3 separate regions of the Homo sapiens genome follow, and all the other regions are linked to region 3. Evidence: promoter capture Hi-C in human tissues and cell types (Jung and others, 2019). All regions are on one chromosome and are shown on one strand. Each heading gives the region's core, a stretch centred on a gene start or on the middle of the fragment in contact. The rest is flanking DNA. Distances are from core to core; before and after follow the strand shown. Region 1 overlaps SYN3 (synapsin III). Region 2 overlaps DEPDC5 (DEP domain containing 5, GATOR1 subcomplex subunit). Region 3 holds the start of RFPL3S (RFPL3 antisense).

Region 1 (3,091 bases), core at 109-2,608, 510 kb before region 3:
GTTATCAGCGGGAAGTTGCACACAGTTCTTTTTTTTTTTTCTTTTCTGAGACACGGTCTCGCTGTTGCCTAGGCTGAAGTGCAGTGGAGTGATCATAGCTTGCAGCAGCCTCAAACTCTTGGGCTCAAGTGATCCTCCCACCTCAGCCTCCCAAGTAGCTGGGACTACAGATGTGCATCACCATGCCCGGATAATATTGTTTATTTTTGGTAGAGATGAGGTCTCACTATGTTGCCCAGGCTGGTCTTGAACTCCTGAACTCAAGCGATCCTCCCACCTTGACCTCCCAAAGTACTGGGATTACAAGCATGAGTCATGTGGGCCTTTCCATGGGTCTTTCTATAACATGGCAGCTTGTTACTTCAAAGCAAGGGAGAACAAGAATACATCTGGGAGCAAGACTGAGACTTATCTGACGTAGCATTATCATGGGGTGCCAACCCATCTCCTTTGCCGTATTCAGCAAACCAGTCACAGATCCCACCCCCTCCGGGGGAGAAGCATGTAAGGGCTTGAACATGAGAGGCAGGGTCCTGCGGGCTGCCTTCCAGTCCATACTTGGCAGCACGTAACTATGCAGACAAATCTCAAAGCCATTATGTTGAGGAAAAAAAGACTAGAGACAAAAGAGTACACATTTCATGATTCCACTGACATGAAATTCTAGAACAGGCAAAACTAATCCATAGTCACTGAAACATCAGTGGTTGCCCAGGGCCAAGGGAATAAGGGGCAGGGGATTGACAGTAGAGGGACACAAGTCACCTGTGAAGGTGATGAAAGTATATCTTTTATTTGGCATGATGATTATATTAGTGTTACATATGTCGAAGCAAATCAAACTACGTTTCAAATGGGTGCATTTTATTTTATGCAAATCATGCCTTTATAAAGTATATATTTTTAAATGGCTCTATGAATTGCACATTTTTATCCCCTTTTTACCGATGAGGAAACTGAAGCTCAAAACGTGTCCAGAGTCGCACAGCTGGGGGAGCCGGGATCCTAAGCCAGGTCTAACTGCAAAGCCCCTTCTCTTTTCCTTTATGCATGACCCCTAATTCTCCTCGAAGCTGCCATTTTCACAGGGAGAAACGCAAGGCTTGGAGAGCTAGAGAAACATTCTCACGACCTCGCAGAAGTGACTGAGTTCTCAAGCTTATGTGTTCTGATTCCAGGTCAAGGGGTTGCCAGACCTCATTAAAGTCTTGTAGCAGATTTTAAGAGTTACTATTGCATTTTTAAAATTTACCCATGTGTGTCATTGTAAACACACTTAGCAATATTGTTCTTTAAAACACACAAGCTTATGAGCCAGTTCTTTACAAGAACAACATATGGCTGTCCATGAAAATAAAGGTTTCGGAAGGTGTGCTGTCTACTGTTGGTTGCCCGCCTTCTTTCATGCTTGCCAAATCCTGAGTTTATTCAGCTGTTTGGTGGCCATGTGCTTCAAGGAAACATAGGCCCCTTTCTGGTGCCATGAGGTGAATCCTGGTTCGTTTCAGCCAGCTGTGGTCATTCTGTTCCCACTGGGAAAGGTGTTTAGAAAAGGGAATATGGGCCTGGTGCAGTGGCTCATGCCTGTAATCCCAGCACTTTGGGAGGCAGAGGTGGGCGGATCACCTTAAGTCAGGAGTTCCAGACCAGCCCAGCCAACATGGTGAAACCCCATCTCTACTAAGAATACAAAAATTAGCTGGGCATGGTGGTGGGCGCCTGTAGTCCCAGCTACTCGGGAGGCTGAGGCAGGAGAATCGATTGAACCCAGGAGGTGGAGATTGTGGTGAGCTGAGATCGTGCCACTGCATTCCAGCCTGGGCAACAGAGCGAGACTCTATCTCAAAAAAAAAAAGGAAAGGGAAGATGATGCAGTTCTGACCAGGGAGGCCTGAGATGTACCTGCCGGGAGGATTCTGGAACATCCACCATGCTTCTTAAAAGCGACACAAGAAAGAGACTCTTTTTCATAGGCATGAGGGTATGGCCCGGGGCACCAGGGTGGCTCACTGATAACGTGAAGGAACAGTATGAGAACAAAAGTCCATCCTTGAGAACAAGAGTCAGAAGGACACAAAACATTTAGATCCTTGAGTCTGACATTGAGCCTCTGATTTACTCGGCCCTGTGATTGCCCTAGCTCAGTGATATGAGCTCATGCATTTTCTTTATTGATTTAGTCATCACTGTTATTTGCAGCCAAAATCATCTTCATATTCAGAAGATATAAGCAGATACTGTCAAAAGTCTTTTTTTTTTTTGCACCCAACTCCATGGTGCATAAAATTCTTATGAATGCTTTTATACATGACATTCCATTCAAAATTAGTGGCAGGCAATTGAAATTATACACTATGTAAGTGTTAAGATTAGTTTCATTCTCGGAAGTGTTTGTTAATAGCTAAAGCTTAGAAACAACCTAACTGTCCATCTGTAGGGAACTGGTTAAATAAATTACGGTCGAGCCACATAATGAGATACAATTATAAATAAAGAAGCATCTCCATTTGTACTGATATGAAATGATTTTCTTTTCTTTTCTTTTTTTTGAGACAGTCTCGCTCTGTCGCCAGGCTGGAGTGCAGTGGCGTGATCTTGGCTCACTGCAACTTCCGACTCCCTGGTTCAAGCTATTCTCCTGCCTCAGCCTCTTGAGTAGCTGAAATTACAGGCACGTGCCACCACACCCAGCTAATTTTTGTATTTTTAGTAAAGACAGGATTTCACCATGTTGGCCAGGATGGTCTGTCTCCTGACCTCGTGATCCGCCCGCCTTGGCCTACCAAAGTTCTGGGGGTTACAGGAGTGAGCCACCGCACCCGGCCACGAAATGATTTTGAAGATATGCTACTTTGAAGAAAAACAAGTTAGAACAGTATACAGGAGACTTTGAAATCCAAGGTCATAGAAAAACATCTGAAGTTTATTGCCTCAATTCTTTATGTGGATTGGCTTATGTGATCCTCTTAGCAACACTCTGAAGTACATGTTATTGTTACCATTCTCTTTTTGAAAGATGGGTAAACTGAGGCATGGAACTGTTAACTAGTGTTCCTGGGATCCCACAGTTGTTTAGTGGTAGAACTGGGGC
Region 2 (3,341 bases), core at 1-2,500, 610 kb after region 3:
TACTTGCCCTCATCCCTTGAAATTATGAAGAGAGATTTCTTACAGTTTCTGAGGCAGTAAATAAAAAATTCTAAGAAGAGTGATATAATTCTTACCCTTCTGTAAATCTTCCTTAAGAGACTTGACCTGCAAAAGCAGAGGGCTGAAAAAGAAAGCAACAAGAGAGTTGGGATACCGTGAACAGTAACTCCCTAGCAACCTTCATCCCCGACAAAAGGCAAATAGGTCACTCTGGCCATTCTGTGACTTACAGCACAACAACGGGAGAAAGCTCCCTCAGAAACAAAGAAACTCGGCCAGGTGCGGTGGCTCACGCCTGTAATCCCAGCACTTTGGGAGGCCGAGGCAGGTGGACCACGAGGTCAGGAGATCGAGACCATCCTGGCTAACACGGTGAAACCCCTTCTCTACTAAAAAATAGAAAAAATTAGGCCGGGTGTGGTGGCTCATGCCTGTAATCCCAGCACTTTGGGAGGCCGAGACGGGCGGATCATGAGGTCAGGAGATCGAGACCATCCTGGCTAACACAGTGAAACCCCGTCTCTCCTAAAAATACAAAAAAATTAGCCGGGCATAGTGGTGGGCGCCTGTAGTCCCAGCTACTTGGGAGGCTGAGGCAGGAGAATGGCGTGAACCCGGGAGGTGGAGCTTGCAGTGAGCCAAGATTGTGCCACTGCACTCCAGCCTGGGCGACAGAGCAAGACTCCGTCTCACAAAAAAAAAAAAAGAAACAAAGAAACTCCATACGCACTAAAGGAAATGGACAAATGCTACAGAACCTTTCAGTTGTCATCTCAGCTTTAAAACCAGAAAGAGGCTGGGCTCGGTGGCTCATGCCTATAATCCCAACACTTTGGGAGGCCAAGGCAGGTGGATCACCTGAGGTCAGGAGTTCGAGACCAGCCTGGCCAACATGACGAAACCCTGTCTCTATTAAAAATACAAAAATTAGCCAGGTGTGGTGGCCCACACCTGTAGTTCCAGCTACTCGACAGGCTGAGGCAGAAGAGTCACTTGAACCCAGGAGGCAGAGGTTGCAGTGAGCCGAGGTGGCACCACTGCACTCCAGCCTGGGTGACAGAGCGAGACTCTGTCTCTTAAAAAAAAAAAAAAAAAAAAAAGGCTGGGCGCGGCAAGGTAGCTCATGCCTGTAATCCTAGCACTTTAAGAGGCCAAGGCAGGCGGATCACGAGGTCAGGAGTTCGAAACCAGCCTGACCAACATGGTGAAACCCCGTCTCTACTAAAAATACAAAAATTAGCCAAGCATGGTGGCACGCGCCTGTAATCCCAGCTACTCAGGAGGCTGAGGCAGGAGAATGGCTTGAACCCGGAAGACAGAGATTGCAGTGAGCCAAGATCCCACCACTGCACTTCAGCCTGGGTGACAGAGTGAGATTTCATCTCAAAAAAAACAAAAAAAAACAAAAAAAACAAAAAAAACGGCTCGGTATGGTGGCTCATGCCTGTAATCTCAGCACTTTGGGAGGCCTAGCAGGATGGATGACTTGAGACAAGCCTGGACAATATGGTGAAACCCCATCTCTACTAAAAAACACAAAAATTAGGCCAGGTGCGGTGCCTCATACCTGTAATCCCAGCACATTGGGAGGCCAAGGCCAGTGGATTACCTGAGGTCAGGAGTTCAAGACCAGCCTGGGCAACATGGTGAAACCCTGTCTCTACCAAAAATGCAAAATTAGCTGGGCGTGATGGCGCATGCCTGTAATCTCAGCTACTCGGGAGGCTGAGCCTGTAATCTCAGCTACTCAGGAGGCTGAGGCAGGACAATCACTTGGGGCTGGGAGGCAGAGGTTGCAGTGAGCTGAGATTACACAACTGCACTCTAGCCTGGGTGACAGAGCTAGACTCCATCTCAAAAAAAAAAAAACGAAGGAATGGACCACTTTTGAAAAATTATTTGTTGATCAAATCCTAGAAGGCATGATCATTTTTTTTTAAGACAGGGTCCCTCTATGTTGCCCAGGCTGGTCTCGAACTCCCGGGCTCAAATGACCTACCCACCTCAGCCTCCCAAAGTGCTGGAATTACAGGATTGAGCCATCACAGCATGAGCATTTTGAAAGGCAAAGAGAGCTATCTGCCTTGGACATCATTTGGAAACAGTGAATTGCCCAGTTCCATGGATCCTATGAGACACTCACCTGTATTCATCGTTGGGGTGTGCAATCTCTACAATGTCTCCAAGCTTGATGTGAGGGAACACTTTGGGGTTCACAACTAGCTCATCATCTGAAAGACAATTCAGCCACTTCAAGTAGAAAAACACTCATTAGGTACACTGTATGTTCTCATACTGGTTCCTCACAACCCCATCAGGATGGTATTGCCACCCCATTGACAGATGAGGTTCTATTTTGAAACGAGGCTTACAATGACTAATGGATTCACACAGGAACACCAAGCTACACAGCAGCAGAGTGGGATGGCGCTCAGGTACCTTTGTCTCCATACCCTGTGCCCTTTCTACTACCGCACTGCTTCCAGGGGCAGAGCAGCCCTTAGTATCTGGGAATTAGGCTTCTGGACAGCCTTTTACCCCCTCAAATATTGTGTATCTGGCATATAACAGGAACAAAACAGGCTGGTTCCCACAGATACAGCACAATTCGTTACAGTTATTCAATGTTCAAAGAATTTCCCAAACAGTGTCTTAATGTGACCGTCACAATAAATCTTTAGATCTAACAGGAGTAAGAAAATAACCTCAGAGAGTCCAGGAGCAGTGGCTCATGCCTGTAATCCCAATACTTTGAGAGGCCGAGATGGACAGATCACCTGAGGTCAGGAGTTCAAGACCAGCCTGGCGAACATGGCGAAACCCCGTCTCTACTAAAAATACAAAAATTAGCCAGGTGTGGTGGTGGGAGCCTGTAATCCCAGCTACTTGGGAGCCTGAGGCAGGAGAATCACTTGAACCCGGGAGGCAGAGGTTACAGTGAGCCGAAATCACACCACTGCACTCCAGCCTGAGTGACAGAAAGAGACTGCATCTCAAAAAAATAAATAAATAAAATAAGAGGGATGTGGTTTCATGTTTATCTACCCCTGCCCCTCTACTAGGGATGGGGAGAACTCTATCAAATATTGCAAACTCAGAAGCATAAAGACAGAATGACTGTTTTGCTGTTTTAATTTGCAAGGAAAGACATCACCTTTAATTATGCTAATATCATGACAATTAAGTTTATCTAGATTTCAAATATAATCAGACCCAACAAAAATTTAGCCTAGTAAAATGAAACATTGGCTTACTCCCAAATTTTTTTGTTTTCTTTTAGAGATAAGGTCTTGCTGTTGCCTAGGCTGGCGTACAGTGGC
Region 3 (3,170 bases), core at 323-2,822:
TCAGCACCTACCCCATTACACCCTCTGTTTTATAATCACTGGACAAAATATAGCATCATCTATATTAATGCAGATTGTATACATCATTTGTGACCTATTTATTTGTTCTAGAAATTTGTACTTAGCAATGATAGACATTTGTACTGTAATATTTATATCATGAAGGGTACCTATTCTCTTTGAAACATAGCAACTCTCTCATCTTAACCCTAAAATTTTCATTTGTTCTATTTATTTTAGGGCAGGTCACTTTCAACAGCTTGTTTTCTTGGGCATATCATAAAAGTATTTGCAATTGGGTGTTATGTATCAGCCAGAATACACACGTAGTTATACATTTTGAAAGTTATCTAAAATTCTGCATTCAGAAACACTTTAATTATATGTATTAGGCTGGGCATGGTGGTTCACGCCTCTAATCCCAATACTTTGGGAGGTCGAGGTGGGTGGATTGCTTGAATCCAAGAGTTGAAGACCAGCCTGGGCACCATGGAAAAACCCCATCTCTACAAAATATTAGCTGAGCATGGCGGCAAGAACCTGTAGTCCCAGCTACATGGGAGGCTGAGTTGGGAGGATCACCTGAGCCTGGGAGGTCAAGGCTGCAGTGAGCCATGATCAAGCCACTGCACTCCAGCCTGAGTGACAGAGTGAGACCCTGTCTCAAATAAAAAATTATATGTATTCACCCAAAGTGTTCACCCCACCGAGAAGATGCACTGGTGAAAATATAGTGATTTTTTTTTCCTTTAAATACTCAGTGAATGGCCAGCCGTTTACATACACAATGGTAGACAAATTCCTCTGTGAATTCACAAAGTTTGGGAGATAAATAAGTGCATAGTAATATATAGAGATAAGTGGAAAAATAAGTTTCATAATTATATTGTGAGAGAAATATGATTTTTATAATATCAAGTAACACTTTTTTCTAATTCTGAACAGTTTATTGCTTCTAGAAACATTAGATCACTCAGGAATGGTAGAAATATGACTTTTTAGGGAAATATGACTTTTAAAATGTGACTTTAAAAAATGTCACTTTTTAAGAAACATGACTTTTATAACAATATCCATTTATGCTGTCTTTAATTCTGAACAGTTTGCTTATTGGTTCTAGAAATATTAGATGACTCAGGAATGGTAGAAATATTTGGCAATGGAATTTCGAATCGAGAATGGAACTTCTGGTTGTTACTAACATATCGGTTTTGCCCCTGCTCAGTTTGAAATTCTTGCCATTGAGTGTATTTTGGGGTACACAATTTCTCCTCCTAAAACTTATTTTAATAAGCACAGAATAGTAATTAATGAGCTTGGGTTTTGTTGTTTTTTTTTTAAGTAAAACGCCTAATCTTTTATTTTATTTTATTTTATTTTATTTTTTTACGGAGTCTCGCTCTGTCGCCCAGGCTGGAGTGCAGTGGCGCTATGTCGGCTCACTGCAAGCTCCGCCTCCCGGGTTCACGCCATTCTCCTGCGTCAGCCTCCCGAGTAGCTGGGGGCTCCCGCCACCACGCCCGGCTAATTTTTTGTGTTTTTAGTACAGACGGGGTTTCACCATGTTAGCCAGGATGGTCTCTATCTCCTGACCTCGTGATCCACCCACCTCGGCCTCCCAAAGTGCTGGGATTACAGGTGTGAGCCACCACTCCCTGCCGTAAAAGGCCTAATCTTTAATGACCCTCCTGTGCGTGTGAAAGCACTCTTGTTGGTGCAGCAGAAAGCGGACCTCACAATACACATTGTGACTTTACCCTGAGACGTTGATGATGCTCCTATCACCATGGTTATGTGATTGGGTATATCTTGCCCTCGGTCCTAACTGCCACTGTCTGTGCTGAGTTTTTCAAAGTTCATAGCAGGTTGAACATGCTTGCTGTCATTTTCACAGATTCTGGTCTTTCTTATGGGGAACCTGAGTTCCTGCATTAAAGGTATGTTCACATTGGCCTGTTGAATGCTGTCCTCTCAAATGTACTAGTTAATATTTAAAAATATATTTTATTAAAAAATTCTCCTCTGTATTTTTCATATGCAGTTATAAATGTGTTTCCCGGTTATGTTTTATTCCTCAATTTATATATTTGATTCTAGTATCAAGCAGGATGCCTTTGAGCTTTTCCTTTATTTAAAAGACATGTCTTATTTCCTGTTACATCTGGCACCCCTCAAACCACCCAATTAGGTATCCTTCTGGGAAAAATATGGCAAAGTATGTTTTAATGCAGTTTTTACCTAATTAAGAACCTATTAAAATCATTAATTTTAAAAATTAGGAGCAAAGCTAGAATGATGCAGATGTCTTTGAGGCTTTTAACACAACGAAGTGTGTCCATCTTTGTCTTTTGTTGTTGTTTTTTTGTTTGTTTGTTTGTTTTTGAGATGGAGTCTCACTCTGTCGCCCAGGCTGGAGTGCAACGGTGCGATCTCGGCTCACTACAACCTCCGCCTCCCGGGTTCAAATGATTCTCTCGCCTCAGCCTCCCGAATAGCTGGGATTTCAGGCACCCACCATCATGCCCGGCTAATTTTTGTATTTTTGTAGAGACAAGGTTTTACCATGTTGGCCAGGCTGGTCTTGAACTCCTGACCTCAGGTGATCCACCTGCCTCGGCCTCCCAAAGTGGTGGTGTTACAGGCGTGAGCCACCACACCAGGCCCTGGCCTGTTTTTAGTATGTCTTTCCTCTCTCCTTTTTCATGAAATGTGTATTCAGTTTAGTAAATTTGGAATATGTCATTTATATTCACATATTAACTTTTTGAAAAGAAGTAAGAATGTGTATTGTCTATGTGTCAGTGTGTGAAACAAAACACACTTATTTTTATGATTGGGGTTTATCCAAAATGATAGAGATAACAATTATAGTCAATCACCCAAACCACTTACCTTTCCAAAGGTAAATATAATCAAGTGTAATCATTTTTTCTCATCCAGAGAGTAGTTCATATTTCAACATACAAAGATAGAGAAGTGAAATGAATCGGTAAACACTATTAACCAAGAACATACAGATTTACTCACACCAGGAAACACGTAGGTCACATACATATATGTAAAGATACATTTAAAAATAATAAGATGATAATTGTACAAGTTTGCATATAAAGTGTAACTTTGAAAAACTGTTAATACTGTTTCTGATGGATTGTGTGACTTAGTTCTCC

Evidence for each region. The method cuts DNA at HindIII sites, captures the fragments that hold promoters and counts their contacts. A contact is called where the count stands out against the background at its distance.
Region 1: a contact is called between a fragment that was not itself captured here and the fragment with the promoter of RFPL3S in region 3, in 4 of the 25 tissues and cell types used here (bladder, dorsolateral prefrontal cortex, mesenchymal stem cells and 1 more).
Region 2: a fragment that was not itself captured here is called in contact with the fragment with the promoter of RFPL3S in region 3 in 1 of the 25 tissues and cell types used here (dorsolateral prefrontal cortex).

Annotation. Positions count from the first base shown.
Region 1 is chr22:32,884,332-32,887,422 of GRCh38, reverse strand. All of the region lies in intron 4 of SYN3 (synapsin III), which reads left to right. Among named protein-coding and RNA genes, the nearest start is that of TIMP3, 84 kb to the right of the region's middle. RefSeq lists a silencer at 93-303. The HindIII fragment of the contact is 3,491 bases long and covers 1-3,091 here.
Region 2 is chr22:31,757,457-31,760,797 of GRCh38, reverse strand. DEPDC5 (DEP domain containing 5, GATOR1 subcomplex subunit) reads right to left here. Exons shown (of 43, transcript NM_001242896.3): 3 at 2,165-2,252; 4 at 96-142. It also overlaps the pseudogene RN7SL20P. Among named protein-coding and RNA genes, the nearest start is that of DEPDC5, 5.1 kb to the right of the region's middle. The HindIII fragment of the contact is 5,617 bases long and covers 1-3,341 here.
Region 3 is chr22:32,369,666-32,372,835 of GRCh38, reverse strand. RFPL3S (RFPL3 antisense) reads left to right here and starts at 1,572. Exons shown (of 5, transcript NR_104232.1): 1 at 1,572-1,638; 2 at 1,895-1,937. The HindIII fragment of the contact is 22,540 bases long and covers 1-3,170 here.